4 separate regions of the Homo sapiens genome follow, and all the other regions are linked to region 3. The links are contacts of gene promoters, found by promoter capture Hi-C in blood cells and fetal thymus (Javierre and others, 2016). All regions are on one chromosome and are shown on one strand. Each heading gives the region's core, a stretch centred on a gene start or on the middle of the fragment in contact. The rest is flanking DNA. Distances are from core to core; before and after follow the strand shown.

Region 1 (4,199 bases), core at 169-2,668, 130 kb after region 3:
AGTATGCTCCCATACAAAAGGGAACACAGATTTTCGCCAGGGATATTAAGAATCTGGGTTAAAGAGAAGTGAATTGGTCCAGAAAAGAAATAGATCATCTCTCCCTTCTTCTGCTGACTCCTTCCCCTTCCTTTTTTCCTCTGCTCTCGTTTAGAATTGCTCTTTCTGCTGTCTGTGTTCCCTGCATATTTAGCTGTAAAATGTCTGCTTCTTTCACTGGGCTGTGCTCTCTTTATGGGCACAATGCATGTCTTATTCACTGCTGTGTATTTGGACTAGAACTGTGTTGGGTGTGCTCAATAAACATTGGAAGGCCCTATCAGAAAAATCAGCTAGCAGAAAACTTACTTAAAAGTAGGAAAACAGTGGGTATGTTCTTGTGTAGAAAAAAGAAAGGAGAAAGACATGTAATTAGAGGTACACTTTTAAAATGAGTAAAGATTGTATAATTATGCCCTATAAGGGCTTATAACATGTAGAAGTAAAGTATATGACAATAATGGTTCAAAAGGATGCAGAGAGTAAATAAAGTCAACCTAAAGTTTTTGCAGTGTTCCAAAAGTAAGATAAGTATTAATTTAAGTAAGATTACAACAAGCCAATTATGCATGTTATAATCTTTAAGGTCACCAGTAAAAGGAAAAGAGGGTATAAAATGAATAATAAATATTTGCTTACTCTAAAAGGATATGGGAAAGGAGGAATAAAAGAACAAAGAACAAATGAGACAAATAGAAACAAATAAAAAAATAGACTTAGTTCCGGCTGGGCGTGGTGGCTCACGCCTGTAATCCCAGCACTTTGGAAGACCGAGATCAGGAGATCGAGACCATCCTGGCTAACACGGTGAAACCCTGTCTCTACTAAAAATACAAAAAATTAGCTGGGCGTGGTGGCAGGTGCCTGTAGTCCCAGCTACTCAGGAGGCTGAGGCAGGAGAATGGTGTGAACCCAGGAGGCGGAGCTTGCAGTGAGCAGAGATCACGCCACTGCACTCCAGCTTGGGTGACAGAGTGAGACTCCGGGTGACAGAGTGAGACTCCGTCTCAAAAAAGAGAAAAAAAAAGATTTAGTTCCAACTATATTAGTAATTACAACAAATATAAATGGATGAAATACTCAAATTAAAACACCACTATTGTTAGACTTATTAAAATTTTTTTAAAGGACTAAAATATATATACCGATCACAAGAGATGTATGTTAAAGATAAAGACGTTAAGAAGTTGAAAGTAAAAAGGGACAGAAAAAGATGTACCATGGAAACAGTAAGCAAAAAGCTAGTGTAGCTATATCGACGTCAGGAAAGGAAACTTTATGCCAAGAATATCACAAAGATGAAAAGGGATATTTAATAAGTATAGAAGGGTCAATTCAATGAAAAGATAATAACAATACTAAATTTGTAGTCATCTGATAACATAGCTTCAAAATATAGAAAATTAATTAAATGATTGCTATGTTACTGTCTTTTGAGGAAATTGTCTACAGACCATTAGTGGGAGTTTGACTGTTATCTCCATCACAGGTTTTCTACAGCCTCTGCTGTCCCCCTGGCCAAAACAGATACTTGGCCAAAGGACGTGGGCATCCTGGCCCTGGAGGTCTACTTCCCAGCCCAATATGTGGACCAAACTGACCTGGAGAAGTATAACAATGTGGAAGCAGGAAAGTATACAGTGGGCTTGGGCCAGACCCGTATGGGCTTCTGCTCAGTCCAAGAGGACATCAACTCCCTGTGCCTGACGGTGGTGCAACGGCTGATGGAGCGCATACAGCTCCCATGGGACTCTGTGGGCAGGCTGGAAGTAGGCACTGAGACCATCATTGACAAGTCCAAAGCTGTCAAAACAGTGCTCATGGAACTCTTCCAGGATTCAGGCAATACTGATATTGAGGGCATAGATACCACCAATGCCTGCTACGGTGGTACTGCCTCCCTCTTCAATGCTGCCAACTGGATGGAGTCCAGTTCCTGGGATGGTATGTACGGCCACGAACCTTATGTAAGAAAGGTGCTGGAATTGGAGGCTGAATATTACCAGTTTTGCTTTTCAGTTCCCCAGGTGGCTTCATCTAGTGAAGGAAGGACAATATATTCACACAGCTGCTGCTATCATCCCACAATAACCACTTAGACTTATATAGCTTTACAGTTAGGTAGCATGTTCACATAGCCATTCATTTAATTCTTACAACAGCCTAGGAAGTGTGTATTATACCAGATTTATAGAAGAGAACATGGAAGATCTGATAGCTTACACATAGTGAGTGGCAGAGGCAAAAATGCCAAACCACATCTGACATATTTCCTATTTTACCGTACCTGTTTCTCTTAAACATGTCCTAAGTCTCTGAGAGATTGGTGATGTTGAAAGATGTATGCAAGTTTAGATGTTCGGGAAAAAAACACCTTCATAGAAACAGGCCCAGAAAACCACAAGATAGACTGTGAGTATTTCTACTCTTTCTCCCTTAGGTGGCTCCTTGCATATTGCTTTTTGCTTAACATATTAACATTACCTTGTATCTTACTTATATCTTCTCCCAGTGCTATATTTGAGGACTAACCCCTGTTGTTACAGCAAGAAATGATTCAAGGGAAACAGTACAGTATGAGAGCTTGAAGCCATAGCTCTATCAATAATCATTGATAAATTCCTGAACCTCTTTGAGCCTCAGGGTTATTTGCCTATCTGCCTTGCTTAACTTATAAGAGGACTGAATAAAATAATTCATAGAAATGTGAAATTTTCATAAAGATGTGAAAAAACAGTATGTTGGCAGTAGTTAAGACACTCTATATTTACTAAGTTTGAAACTAGGATTAAAAACCTTAGAAACCATGATAAGCATTAATTATAAAATTAATCAAAAAGCCTTAATATTGGCAGAGTCCTCAGAGATCATCTAATTCAATATCTTTTGCTTTAGAAAAAAGAGGTCAAGAGGAGTGTAACAGTTTATCTCTGTACATGCAGCAAGACCGTGCAATTACAAAAGTTCATTCCAGGCTTTTCCAACTGCCCTACCTGGCTCCATCATTAACAATTCCACTGACATGGGATGGTCCAGTCTACATCATCAAGTCTGTTCTTAAAGTGCCTCTCCTACTTGATACTTGTATTACTACCTCTCTAGTAACCCCTACCACCATTACCACCACTGATATGTCCAACCAATTATTTAGTTGAGGAGTAGAAATGAAAAATAAGGGGCATTCACCAGCCTTTAACCAAAAATCAAAGAGCCTATTCTTGAGAGCATTGTCAGCCTTAAGCATGCCATTTCAAATGCGTAGATTCTTCTGAGGGGCTGGGTATTCCACAGATGGGGTTGCAAATGCATCTTTTAAAAAAATGTGGTATCTAGGTATAAAAGTAAAAATTTAAAAAACAAGTTATTGAAATGTGAATCTTTAGTTTGTATTTAAAACAAAAACAGCTAAGCTTGAGCCTGGACACTCGGACTACATACCCTGCAGGTGACAGTAACCACCAGGACCAGAGGATGCCAGTGTGAATGAGAACTCTGCTTCTGACCTAGCCAGTCATTCATCTGGGGACCCTCAGGTGGGAGGGAGTGGCTCTGAGACTCAGGGAGTTCTGAATCACTCCAGAGAAAAGTGGAGGGGATGAGGAAAGAGAAGAGTATTTCTGGCTCAGATTGGCTGGGAGTCCCCATGTTTTCTTGTGTTTTTTTTTTTAAATGAAAATAATTAAAATTTATATTTGGAAAAAAACATACACATACACAAAAGTATATAAAGCAAAGAAAGACTCCTCATTTGACCTGTTACCACTTCCCAAAATTTAACACTGATGGTTTATATGTATTCTTCCAATATTTTTTCTAAGTACCTGCAAGTATACACATATCTATTCCATTTTAAACATTGTACAAAATATTCCTCATCTCTTAGGTCTTAGAGGTAATTCTGTATCAACATATGTAAGGTCTATCTGATTCTTTTTAAAACCACAATATTCTTGATGGATATGCCAAATTTTATTTAATTAATCCCATATTGATGGATATTTAGTTTTTTAGCAATGATAAATAAAGTTTTAATGAACATTGTACAATAGCTTTGTATACTTTTGGCATTGTATTGTAAGAATAAATTCCTAGAAGTGGAATATCAGGATAGGTTGATTTAAAAGTTTGATAAAATGTGCCAAATTCTTCTCCAAAATGTT
Region 2 (4,039 bases), core at 836-3,335, 170 kb after region 3:
GGGAAACTGGAAGGACAGATGGACAATGGATGTAAGGCTCTACTGTGAGGCCATAAACTTGTTCCTGTTTTCTAAATTATCACAGGAAAGCAGACAAAACAAAAGCAGGAAGGAAAGAAAGAATGGGCAGGACACAAGCACCCTCCCTGTGAGGCAGGATAGGTAATCAAGGAAGTGCAGCAACCTTGGTGATCCTATAGTCAACACAATAAGCCTCGGTATTCATATTCTAACTGAGCTCATTCAAGCAAAGCTATCTTCAGTAGGGAACTTCCCATCTAGACAGCCTGTGCACTTTGATTTTTCCTGTCCTCAAACTGACCCCCTGGCTCATTATAATAGTAAAAAACACACTCCTGGGTGGAGATTTAAGATGCTAATAAGACATGTGCCAAATGAACAAGAATGTACAGCTACTACTCATGTGCACCCAGAGGACCACCCAAAACATGCTTACTAGTAACAGCTCTTCCCACCTCCTTATGAATAATCATGTAAAACTCCTATAAAGGGAGTTTCTCCAGCAATAATCAACACTGCCTCATTCGTTTTTGTTTTTGTTTCTGTTTTTTAAGACGGAGTCTCGCTCTGTCGCCCAGGCTGGAGTGCAGTGGCATGATCTCGGCTCACTGCAAGCTCCGCCTCCCGGGTTCACGCCATTCTCCTGCCTCAGCCTCCCAAGTAGCTGGGACTACAGGCGCCCGCCACCACGCCCGGCTAATTTTTTTTTTTTTTTTTTTAGTAGCGATGCGGTTTCACCATGTTATCCAGGATGGTCTTGATCTCCTGACCTCATGATCTGCCTGCCTCGGCCTCCCAAAGTGCTGGATTACAGGCGTGAGCCACCGCGCCCGGCCAACACTGCCTCACTCTTATGAGCAGCCCACCCTGAATTCTCTCTCTCCCGAGGTGTACTGTCTACTCTGCACTTAACTTTCAAAATATTCTTTTTCCTTTGCAATAAACTCCTCAATGCTGCACCGTGTCTCTTGTTTAAATTCTTTTAAACTAAGAAGACAGGAACCAAAGTCTCAAAAGAGCCATCAACACCTGGTTCACTGGGACTCAGGGCTATTCACTCACCAGAGAGCTAAAGGACCCCCACCAAGTATTTCCAGCTTTTGAGTCCAGATCAGCAGGCCAGTGTTCTCTCCCTCCTTGACTTTAACACTTATTTAGATGGGGGCTCCAAGAGAGGGTCAGACCCTCCTAGAACAAAGCTTCTGGCTTCTGCCCAGACATGCTGCCTTTCCCAAAATTGCTGCAGAAAGTCCCACATCACAGGGTTCCAGCAACATCTTACCTTCATCCCAAAGGACTGCATCCGGGTAGCTACCTCTCTCCCAATCCTGCCCAGGCCAAGAATTCCCAGGGTCTTTCCATTCAGCTCTGTTCCCATGAACTGCAACCAAACAGGCAAAAGGAAAGAAGCTGAAGTCAGCAACATGAGTGGACCCCGGGCCCTGAGCCCAGGTGGGGCGAGTCAAGGCCGCTGCTCACCTTCTTCCGCTCCCATTTGCCGTCCTTCATCGAAGCCGTCGCCTGGGGAATCTGCCTGCAAGGATAGACACAGGTTCAGAGGGTCCATTCGGACTCCCGCCAGCCCAGGAAGGAGATGCAACATCAGGTTTGCACAGTCACTGCCCATGACAGCCACTTCCCCAAGAACTGGGTCTGGGGGTTCAGGTTTAGGAACACTGATGGGGGATAAAGGGAAAACAGAAGAGAGAAACCCTTGGCAAGATCTGACTTAGAAAGCCTGGGATTTCTGTGACCAGCCAGGCATCTGGGAGGAGGTATGGATTCCACCTCAGCCACTGAGGCATCAACCAGAGTGAGTTTTTTACTTTAAGCGATCGCCAATCCTCCAGGGTCTGTAGGGATAACTGAGTGGGGTACTGGGCAACTCTGATGACATCGAGTACTCCAGAAGCTCAAGGAATTATTTTGATCTACCTATCTCATCCAGCACCATAACCTATGACGTCTTCTACTATTATGAAGAGGACACCTAATTACCTATGCTTCCTTGAGAGTTTCTTAACCCCGAGGGTCTTAGACTAGTCTGGACCCTAGAGTGGGTGGGTGGATGCCAAAGCCCAGACACTTCCATTCTGTCCTGAATGCGTGGTCCCAACATTTTTAAACATCCGCACCACCTTCCTGTCCCACCACCACCAACACACACACACACACACACACACACACACACACACACACACACACTCTTCACAGCCTGTCTCCTCCTATTAGTCCAGATGGAAGTCTGAGTCTACATCTGTGTTTTCTGGAGGAGACAGAGGAAGTGGCAATTAGGGCAACATTAGAGGTCAAAGGGCGATATATGTCCTGTGGGCATGGGTCATCAACACATCTCTGGAGGCAAAAAAGGAAGATTTGAGAAACAATGTTTAAGGAGCACTTTATTTTAGACATCCTAAAAGAAATGTTTAGACACACATTAACTCCTCTAACATTCACAGCTGCACGGAGGGAGGCACTGGAGGTTAAACAGTTCTCCCCAGATCACCCAACTGGAGGCACTTGAACAGATTCAAAGCCAGCAAAGTCAACCCCAGCACGGCCAGCCTCCTGAGTACTTAAATGTAGGCCTTTAACCTGATGCCAAAAACCTCAGAGTGAGCGAGCGTGCAAAAAGAGAAATCTCAAGCTGCTACTTCCGTGCTTTCACTTCACTAACTTCTAACACAAAAACATTCTCTCATCTCTACACATCACTAGGACATTGATCTCCATCTGAGGGTAAGGCTGAAGGTGGAATCTGTCCTCCATCACAGAGGCGCACGATCTTATGGGTAAACTCAGAAGAACTTCAGTACCAAGCCACATGGGGGACAAGCTGCATTCACCTCACTGCTCTGACCCATCAGGCAGGTAATAAGGACAGGGACTTGCCTTGAGGAACTGTTCACTTCTTGGGAAAGCTTGCCTGATAAAATGCCTTTGACCTAGTGAGACAGAGCCCCACCTGGCCCCTCTCTCCTCTCCCTCACATCCTATTTTCTTCCCACCAGACTCCACAGTGCTATCTAAGATGTATGCGTGCGGCACCACAGAACACAAGAAATCCCTAACCCTTTTCTCTGGCTGCTGCTCCCAGCTGATCATGGAGCCTCTCCAGGTTTCAATGCTTTGGAATCCTCATCAGGCCAGACTGGAGAGGACTCTAATGTGGGCGAGGGTCCTCACAATAATTAAATGGTTGCTGGCCTGACTTACTAGAGGAGGAGATGGTAAAGCAGGCAAAAATGGTGAAACCTACATTTGTTGATTCTCTCCTTCCTTCCTTTCTGTGTGCTGTTCTTCTGCACCTCAGGAGCCCCCGCCATCTGCTCAAAGTCCCTACTGTGAGGCCCAGCCACGCCTGCTCTCCACCCACATTGCCCAATCCTGTAGAGTCTACATATAGGCACCCACACTCTCCTACCGTCCTCCCTGCTAGGAACAGTCTGATGAAACGAACGCATTCCTTCCCAATAGGGTGTGCGTGTTTCCTAGTTTTGATGCACCTTTGATGAGTGAGGTCATGGTGAGCAGTTGACAATGGGGAGCTTCTTTTAAACCACAGCATTTCACCGATTCCTTTAAACAAAGCTGGTCCTGGAAAAGGAGGGAAAGTATTGCTGGCTCCCAATCCTTTCCTTCCACCTCCAGAAAAAAAGTGAGGTAATTAATCAGAAAGCCACATTGAGATCTTTTCCCTTACTCAAAAAAAAAAAAAAAAATCCCTGAAGGTAATAGCTGAAGTGAAACCAGGGTGCCAGGCTTCTGTACTTCTCCAGGGGGAGAGACACTCAGCCTAGATGTTCTGGGAGAACCCGGCTGCCAGCCTGGGGGCCCCTTCTAGGCTGAGACCCTACTGCTGTGTAAGCTATCCCTGTTTCTCCTTTCCCCCCACTGCCTCCTTTCACCTACCAGTGAATATCAGTGAATACCAGAGAGCTCAGATGGAAACTGCAGGGAGGAGTTAGAGCAGAGGTAAATTCCCCCAGATCCTCCTCCAGCAGGAGGGAAAGCA
Region 3 (4,144 bases), core at 456-2,955:
TATCCACTACTTCACAGGTCATTGCAAGCTTCTTTCCTTCAGCCTGACCTTAAATCCTACTATTCCTGAGCGATCCAACCTGGTCTTTCTCTGCTCATTCCTCACCATCCCATGAGGCATCATCATCAGCTTTTATGGCTTCAATCAGCACCACTGTGCAGAGGACTCCAGTTCAGCTCCAACTCAGGCATCTCAGCCCAGAGGATGCTGCCTACTCGTCTGCAGTTGAGAAATCCCTTCTTCAATGCTCCTTTACTGGCACCTGGAAATCTACATTTTGCAAGCAGAGCTTTTCATATTTATTTCCTTTATCTAAATCTATTTGTTCTGATGTTTTTCTTCTTTGAGTGGTTAGAACCATGACACACACATACACCTAAGCCAGAAACATCAACATTCTTTTTCATTTTTGCCTCTTTCATTCTGGGAGAATCCATGCAAGCATTAAGTCCAGCAGAGTCTAAGTGGTTTTAAATCTCTTGGAGCTGTCAACTTTTGTCCTTCCCTAAAGAGACAACAGAGTTGACTAGTAAAGAACACAGGCTCCGGGTAGAGTTGCCTAAATGTTCACAGGGATTGCTTCAGCTGACGCCACCTTCTGAACCATGGTACGGTTTTCATGTCCTCATGTGCAAAGTATGGGTGATAATAGTAGTACCTATAACCTAGGGTCATGGTGAAGATTTAATGGGCTGATTTATGCAGAGCATAGCGGGGTGTGTAGCATGAAACGAGCCAGTCTTCCATAAGTACTGCTTATTATCAGCCCTAAGGCCATGCTTTCTGCCAACAGACAACATTGCTTGGTACAAGAGCTTTTAACTAGTCTCCCTGACTCAAGCCTGTTCCTTTTTAACCTTTCCTTGTAATTCAGCCAGATGGAATCTCCCAGGAACAAAACTGAAAATATTCCTCTCTTATCAGAATCCCTCAGAATCACCTCATGACCTTCCGATTTGCCCTTTTACGGACGATAAACCCTTCCATTTTCTGAGCCAGAGGCTTCTTCCTTTGTGGAGTCAGCCTCATCGCTCGACTAGGAACATAACCAGCTATCTACCTTTCTCAGAAAGCACTTGGGTTTGCTCTTATAACAGGCACTTTTTCTAGGTTCTTCCCACCATTGCACATGGACACACAAAAATTACACTGACCCCTGGCACCCCAAAGACAAACAGCAGAAAGCACTCCCAGGCAAAATGAGCTCAGGACCTTTCTGTTGCCTGGGCCCACAACTAAGGTTCAGGGCCTTCTCTAAAAAGAAGCCGCAGCCGAAGACAGAGGAACTGCCCAGAGTGGGGCTGGGGGTGTGGAGTCTACGCTGATACTTTCAGGCTGTTTCCACTCTTGCTGGTTCTGATGCTCCTTTCTTTTGCCACAAGCAACCCTAGTGGAAAACTGGGAAATGTCCAACAATGAAGTTAGGACAGTGGCCCATAAAACATCGGATTCCAACCTGTGTCCTAAGGTGTAAAGACACAGAGTAAAGGCAAAGATACAGTGAGCCTTTAACACGTTCTCCTTTGTTCTTCCTATTTCTCTATTCCTTCTCCATTTCCGATGGTGTTCTCTACCCTCTCTCCAACCCACGTGCCAACAGCCCCTCTTTTCTCTTTTATTCTCGCCCACGTTTCCCTCCTTTCTTCCACCTGCGCCCAACGGTACGGCCCGGAAAACGAACTGGATGCGTTGGACAGGTCACGCGCGCATTGCGGACGCCAGCTAGACCGAGCCCTGGGAGGCTACGGGCTCCCCCGGAAACCCTGCCAGGGGAGCCGGGTTTTGAGCTCAGGCGCCTCTAGCGGCGGCCCCCAGAAATCTGACTCGCGAGGCCAGAGTTGCAGGGACTGAATAGCAAACTGAGGCTGAGTAGGGAACAGACCATGAGGTCAGTGCAGATCTTCCTCTCCCAATGCCGTTTGCTCCTTCTACTAGTTCCGACAATGCTCCTTAAGTCTCTTGGCGAAGATGTAATTTTTCACCCTGAAGGGGAGTTTGACTCGTATGAAGTCACCATTCCTGAGAAGCTGAGCTTCCGGGGAGAGGTGCAGGGTGTGGTCAGTCCCGTGTCCTACCTACTGCAGTTAAAAGGCAAGAAGCACGTCCTCCATTTGTGGCCCAAGAGACTTCTGTTGCCCCGACATCTGCGCGTTTTCTCCTTCACAGAACATGGGGAACTGCTGGAGGATCATCCTTACATACCAAAGGACTGCAACTACATGGGCTCCGTGAAAGAGTCTCTGGACTCTAAAGCTACTATAAGCACATGCATGGGGGGTCTCCGAGGTGTATTTAACATTGATGCCAAACATTACCAAATTGAGCCCCTCAAGGCCTCTCCCAGTTTTGAACATGTCGTCTATCTCCTGAAGAAAGAGCAGTTTGGGAATCAGGTTTGTGGCTTAAGTGATGATGAAATAGAATGGCAGATGGCCCCTTATGAGAATAAGGCGAGGCTAAGGGACTTTCCTGGATCCTATAAACACCCAAAGTACTTGGAATTGATCCTACTCTTTGATCAAAGTAGGTATAGGTTTGTGAACAACAATCTTTCTCAAGTCATACATGATGCCATTCTTTTGACTGGGATTATGGACACCTACTTTCAAGATGTTCGTATGAGGATACACTTAAAGGCTCTTGAAGTATGGACAGATTTTAACAAAATACGCGTTGGATATCCAGAGTTAGCTGAAGTTTTAGGCAGATTTGTAATATATAAAAAAAGTGTATTAAATGCTCGCCTGTCATCAGATTGGGCACATTTATATCTTCAAAGAAAATATAATGATGCTCTTGCATGGTCGTTTGGAAAAGTGTGTTCTCTAGAATATGCTGGATCAGTGAGTACTTTACTAGATACAAATATCCTTGCCCCTGCTACCTGGTCTGCTCATGAGCTGGGTCATGCTGTAGGAATGTCACATGATGAACAATACTGCCAATGTAGGGGTAGGCTTAATTGCATCATGGGCTCAGGACGCACTGGGTTTAGCAATTGCAGTTATATCTCTTTTTTTAAACATATCTCTTCGGGAGCAACATGTCTAAATAATATCCCAGGACTAGGTTATGTGCTTAAGAGATGTGGAAACAAAATTGTGGAGGACAATGAGGAATGTGACTGTGGTTCCACAGAGGAGTGTCAGAAAGATCGGTGTTGCCAATCAAATTGTAAGTTGCAACCAGGTGCCAACTGTAGCATTGGACTTTGCTGTCATGATTGTCGGTTTCGTCCATCTGGATACGTGTGTAGGCAGGAAGGAAATGAATGTGACCTTGCAGAGTACTGCGACGGGAATTCAAGTTCCTGCCCAAATGACGTTTATAAGCAGGATGGAACCCCTTGCAAGTATGAAGGCCGTTGTTTCAGGAAGGGGTGCAGATCCAGATATATGCAGTGCCAAAGCATTTTTGGACCTGATGCCATGGAGGCTCCTAGTGAGTGCTATGATGCAGTTAACTTAATAGGTGATCAATTTGGTAACTGTGAGATTACAGGAATTCGAAATTTTAAAAAGTGTGAAAGTGCAAATTCAATATGTGGCAGGCTACAGTGTATAAATGTTGAAACCATCCCTGATTTGCCAGAGCATACGACTATAATTTCTACTCATTTACAGGCAGAAAATCTCATGTGCTGGGGCACAGGCTATCATCTATCCATGAAACCCATGGGAATACCTGACCTAGGTATGATAAATGATGGCACCTCCTGTGGAGAAGGCCGGGTATGTTTTAAAAAAAATTGCGTCAATAGCTCAGTCCTGCAGTTTGACTGTTTGCCTGAGAAATGCAATACCCGGGGTGTTTGCAACAACAGAAAAAACTGCCACTGCATGTATGGGTGGGCACCTCCATTCTGTGAGGAAGTGGGGTATGGAGGAAGCATTGACAGTGGGCCTCCAGGACTGCTCAGAGGGGCGATTCCCTCGTCAATTTGGGTTGTGTCCATCATAATGTTTCGCCTTATTTTATTAATCCTTTCAGTGGTTTTTGTGTTTTTCCGGCAAGTGATAGGAAACCACTTAAAACCCAAACAGGAAAAAATGCCACTATCCAAAGCAAAAACTGAACAGGAAGAATCTAAAACAAAAACTGTACAGGAAGAATCTAAAACAAAAACTGGACAGGAAGAATCTGA
Region 4 (3,835 bases), core at 1,205-3,704, 150 kb after region 3:
CACTCTTAGCTGGTAAATGAATTTGAATCGACATAGTAGCCCCATAAGCATCAGCCCTGTAGAGTGAGGAGCCATCTCTAGCGGGCCCTTCATTCCTCTCCATGCTGCAATCACTGTCCTGGGCTTATGGTGCTATGGACTAGGGGTCCTTTGTGAAAGAGCAAGATGGAGCAATGGAGAGAAGACCTCTTCCTGAATCACTGGACTCCAGAAATGTGCATGCAGATCAGCTGTTGCCTTCAAGATCCAGATAAACTTTCCTGTCATGTGTTAGAACTTTATTATTATTAATATTGTTAAACTTCTGTGCTGTTCCTGTGAATCTCCAAATTTTGTACCTTGTTCTAAGCTAATATATAGCAATTAAAAAGAGAGAAAGAGGAAATGATTCCTGCGTTTCTTGGAACCCAGAATACAAACCCAGCCTAACATGCAGCAAGCCTGCTAGACCTTGTGGGTCAGAGGGCTGGGTCCTTGCCTCACAGGCTGCCTCTGTCCCCTTGCAATTCCATTCTATTTCTGCCACATGCCAAGTGCTATGACAGGTACAAGGCAAATAAGAACGGTAGAACACAGCTTCCCCCAGCCCACTTCCCTGTTCTAAAGACACCACATAGACAGAGAGCAGCAGACAGGGGCCAGCAGGAGCTGTAGTTCAGATCTTCTTGGTCATTCCTTGCCGCTGTTATTTGAACAAATAAACACAGCGCAAAGGTTAACAAGTTTTTGCCTTCTATAGCCAAAAATAAAAAAATAAATAAATTTTGATGCCTGGCAGGAAATTATTCCATTACAGGATCTTTCCCCCTTGGGGGAGGGCACTGCTTCTTCTAGGGTCCTCTTATAAAATAGCAATGGTTCAGGCAGATGGGGATTGAGCTGAGGACGGGAGTGGGAGGAGAGGGAAAGTATCAGGGTGTTGTCATCACTTCCTTTTAGAAAGTTTCCTCAGTCACCCCCATGAGGAAAGGGCACCTTGGAAAAGAGAGAGGATGCTTTCCATTGGCGGGGAGCAGAGCTGGTGGGGGCAGGGGAGGAGGAGGGGAGGAGGAGGAGGAGGAGAAGCAGGGGAGGCTTAAGGCTCCCTTAAGCCTCAGGGAGCGCTTAAGAATGGCCCCACAGGAATGAGAAGCTGGGTCTGTTCCCTTCACTGTTTTGCTCAAGGCTGTTCATGTCACAACAAATCCCAGATAAGCCCCAATTTGCTCAGAGAATCCAGCATTAGCTGACTGCCTTCCCAGGCCTCTCTCAAGGTGCCTGCAAAACTCTACTCATCACACCAGCTGCAGCCGCTGCTTAGCAGCCCCTCTTTGCTACCCTCTTGCTGCCTGCACCTCCTCAGCAAGATGTTTAGGGGCCCTCAACCTGGTTGGCATCCCTAGCAGAACAACATGTGCCTTTCGGTATCTGTGTGCAGGGGAGAAAACCCAGCACTAACCTTAGCTCTGGAGACAAGAGGCCTCGGGCCTGGCCTTCTATCCACACAGAAGCTCACTGTGCAGTGTTGGTGCTGAAACTCTCTCCATCAGCCTCAGTCAGCCTCAGCAACCAGAACTTCCCATACTTCCTGCATCAGAGGCCAGGCCTGTCTCCACTAGGGAGGCATTTGAGCACAAATGGAATGATATTAAACATTCGACAACCAGGTTGTCAAGGGCTGACCAATTGAATGGACACTGCCCACAGCCCACACACCAGCTGGGCATCAGCACTGGCTCCCTCCAACTTCCTTATTCACCAACTTTTATACTGAGCCCGAGGCCTTCCTCTGGCAGCTCTGGGACACTGATGCCTGCCTGCTCTGAACAAAGCCCTCTCCCCCATGTAAGGTCAGCACACGAGGGAATGAGTTGCCAATGGCTCAGTCAACATTTTCACCCTAAAGTCTACAGATACCATACAAATAAAGACTTTCCCTGTGGGCAAAAATTCACACAGGGTGACCTAGGGCAGGAGAGAGGACGGCAGATTGGGCAAGTGTTGGGCTATGATACACTCATTCAAACGGGAATACTCAACATGTGATGTTAAAACTGATGCAAAAGATGGCCCCGCCACTGACCATGAGACAAGCCCAAGCTCTAGGGGGACACACTGATCACAACTTCAGGAGTCAGCACATTGAGGCAGATTCTGTGCGTGGCCCAGCTTTTGCCCTGCCTCCACCCTGAGCTCACAGCCAGCCTTCTGCTGTGTGTGCACAAGAATGAACTTCTACTCTAAAGGGGCAGTGAAGAGATGCCACATGCCACAAAGAACATGAGGGAGTCCATGGCACCCTCCCTGTAGCCCTAGCTGGATTTTTCAAAAATTTCATTGTATATATTTGAGGGATAGAACATGACGTTGTAAGATATATATATGTAGTAAAATGGTTACTGTAACGGAACAAATTAACATATTCATTATTTTACAAAGTTACCCATCCCCCGCCACCATGGCAAGAGCAGCTGCAATCTACTAATTTAGGAAAAATCCTCAGTACAATACACTGTTATTAACTATAGTCCTCAGGTTGTACATCAGATCTTTTGACTTACTCACCCTATGTATTTTCTACTTTACATTCTTTGACCTGTATCTCCCTAGACACCCCCCTCAACTACTTTTCTAGTTCCTATGTCAATATATTTGACCTCTTTTTTGGGGGGGGATTCCACATATAAATGAGTAAGTGCAATAATTTTCTTTTTGTGTCTGGCCTATTTACTTAGTCATCAGGGAAATGCAAATCAAAACCACGGTGAGATACCACCTCACACCTGTTAAGATGGCTATTACCAAAAAGACAAGAGATAGCAAGTGTTGGTAAAGATGTGGAGAAAAGGAGAAACTTTCTAGACTGTTGATGGGAATGTAAATTGATGCAGCTATTATGAAAAATATTACAGAGTTTCCTAAAGAAACCAGCTGAATTTTACAACGAATCCTGCCCTTTAAGTTTGGGAGAGGTCATGTGGACAGCCATGGGAGACGTGATACGATAAGATCGTCCCATGCCCTCTTTCATGACCCAGTCTAGGAAGATATTTTGAGATGCTCAAGTAATCTGCGTTTCTAGTACTGTTCCGAAGACCTTAGTGCACAGAACATGATTTGTTTAGGGGCTTATGAGGAAGGAGGCTGAGAGGCTAAACATTGAGCTCAATTTTTAACTGAATTTTTAACTTCATAAATTTCAGCCTGTTTTTCTATCCATCAGTGCACTCAAGTGACCTCAGTGGATGCCATGTGAGGCACAGGTATATTTCCAGTTGGAGAGAATGGGTTGTCTGATGTCAGGACACCCAGTGTCTAGATCTGGCTGAACATAATTGCAATGAGGTCATGTTGAGAACTATTTGGTTCATGGGGTTGGTTCTATGTAAAGAATTGAGACCTGCCTGTCTGCTCTCAGACTAACATAGGATGAAGAAACCAACATTCACCAAGTGCTCCTGGCACTTCCCGTAAGTCACTGTTTAATCCAGTAAATTCTCATTGCAGTTCTGTGAGAGGCACCATTAGCCCTCCCACAGATGAGGAAACAAAGGTCTAGGATAATTAAACACTGAGTTCCCAGTCAGACAGCTGTCCAGAGTTGACCATGACATTCACAACCAGGCCCATTCCCTTCAAGGTGAGCTACAGCAAGGCCAACCCCTCTGAGTTCACTGCAGACACTAACACAGCCCTTACTGCTGGAGTTCTTATTGATGCTTAGCTCCATCACAAAACTAAGGAGGCCAGAGTGCTGGACTCGCCCCTGCCAGTGCCAAGCAGCTGCCCTGTGTCAAGCCTTCTTAGCCAGGCCAGGAATCTCAGAAACAGACACTACTGGGCACACAGTAAGAAT

The links. The method cuts DNA at HindIII sites, captures the fragments that hold promoters and counts their contacts. A CHiCAGO score of 5 or more calls a contact.
Region 1: a fragment that was not itself captured here is called in contact with the fragment with the promoter of ADAM30 in region 3 in 5 of 17 cell types (M1 macrophages, M2 macrophages, M0 macrophages and 2 more); the score reaches 11.8 in M1 macrophages.
Region 2: a contact is called between a fragment that was not itself captured here and the fragment with the promoter of ADAM30 in region 3, in 3 of 17 cell types (M1 macrophages, M0 macrophages and M2 macrophages). The highest score is 8.6, in M1 macrophages.
Region 4: a contact is called between a fragment that was not itself captured here and the fragment with the promoter of ADAM30 in region 3, in 4 of 17 cell types (M0 macrophages, M1 macrophages, M2 macrophages and 1 more). The highest score is 11.0, in M0 macrophages.

What each region holds. Positions count from the first base shown.
Region 1 is chr1:119,761,956-119,766,154 of GRCh38, reverse strand. It overlaps HMGCS2 (3-hydroxy-3-methylglutaryl-CoA synthase 2), which reads left to right. Exons shown (of 10, transcript NM_005518.4): 2 at 1,529-1,983. Among named protein-coding and RNA genes, the nearest start is that of HMGCS2, 4.8 kb to the left of the region's middle. The HindIII fragment of the contact is 4,067 bases long and covers 1-3,451 here.
Region 2 is chr1:119,724,367-119,728,405 of GRCh38, reverse strand. It overlaps PHGDH (phosphoglycerate dehydrogenase), which reads right to left. Exons shown (of 12, transcript NM_006623.4): 4 at 1,501-1,555; 5 at 1,304-1,402. Among named protein-coding and RNA genes, the nearest start is that of PHGDH, 14 kb to the right of the region's middle. The HindIII fragment of the contact is 1,725 bases long and covers 1,223-2,947 here.
Region 3 is chr1:119,894,076-119,898,219 of GRCh38, reverse strand. ADAM30 (ADAM metallopeptidase domain 30) reads left to right here and starts at 1,705. Exons shown (of 1, transcript NM_021794.4): 1 at 1,705-4,144. The coding sequence starts at 1,884. The HindIII fragment of the contact is 9,342 bases long and covers 31-4,144 here.
Region 4 is chr1:119,744,929-119,748,763 of GRCh38, reverse strand. It overlaps HMGCS2 (3-hydroxy-3-methylglutaryl-CoA synthase 2), which reads left to right. Exons shown (of 10, transcript NM_005518.4): 10 at 1-762. Among named protein-coding and RNA genes, the nearest start is that of HMGCS2, 22 kb to the left of the region's middle. The HindIII fragment of the contact is 5,020 bases long and covers 1-3,835 here.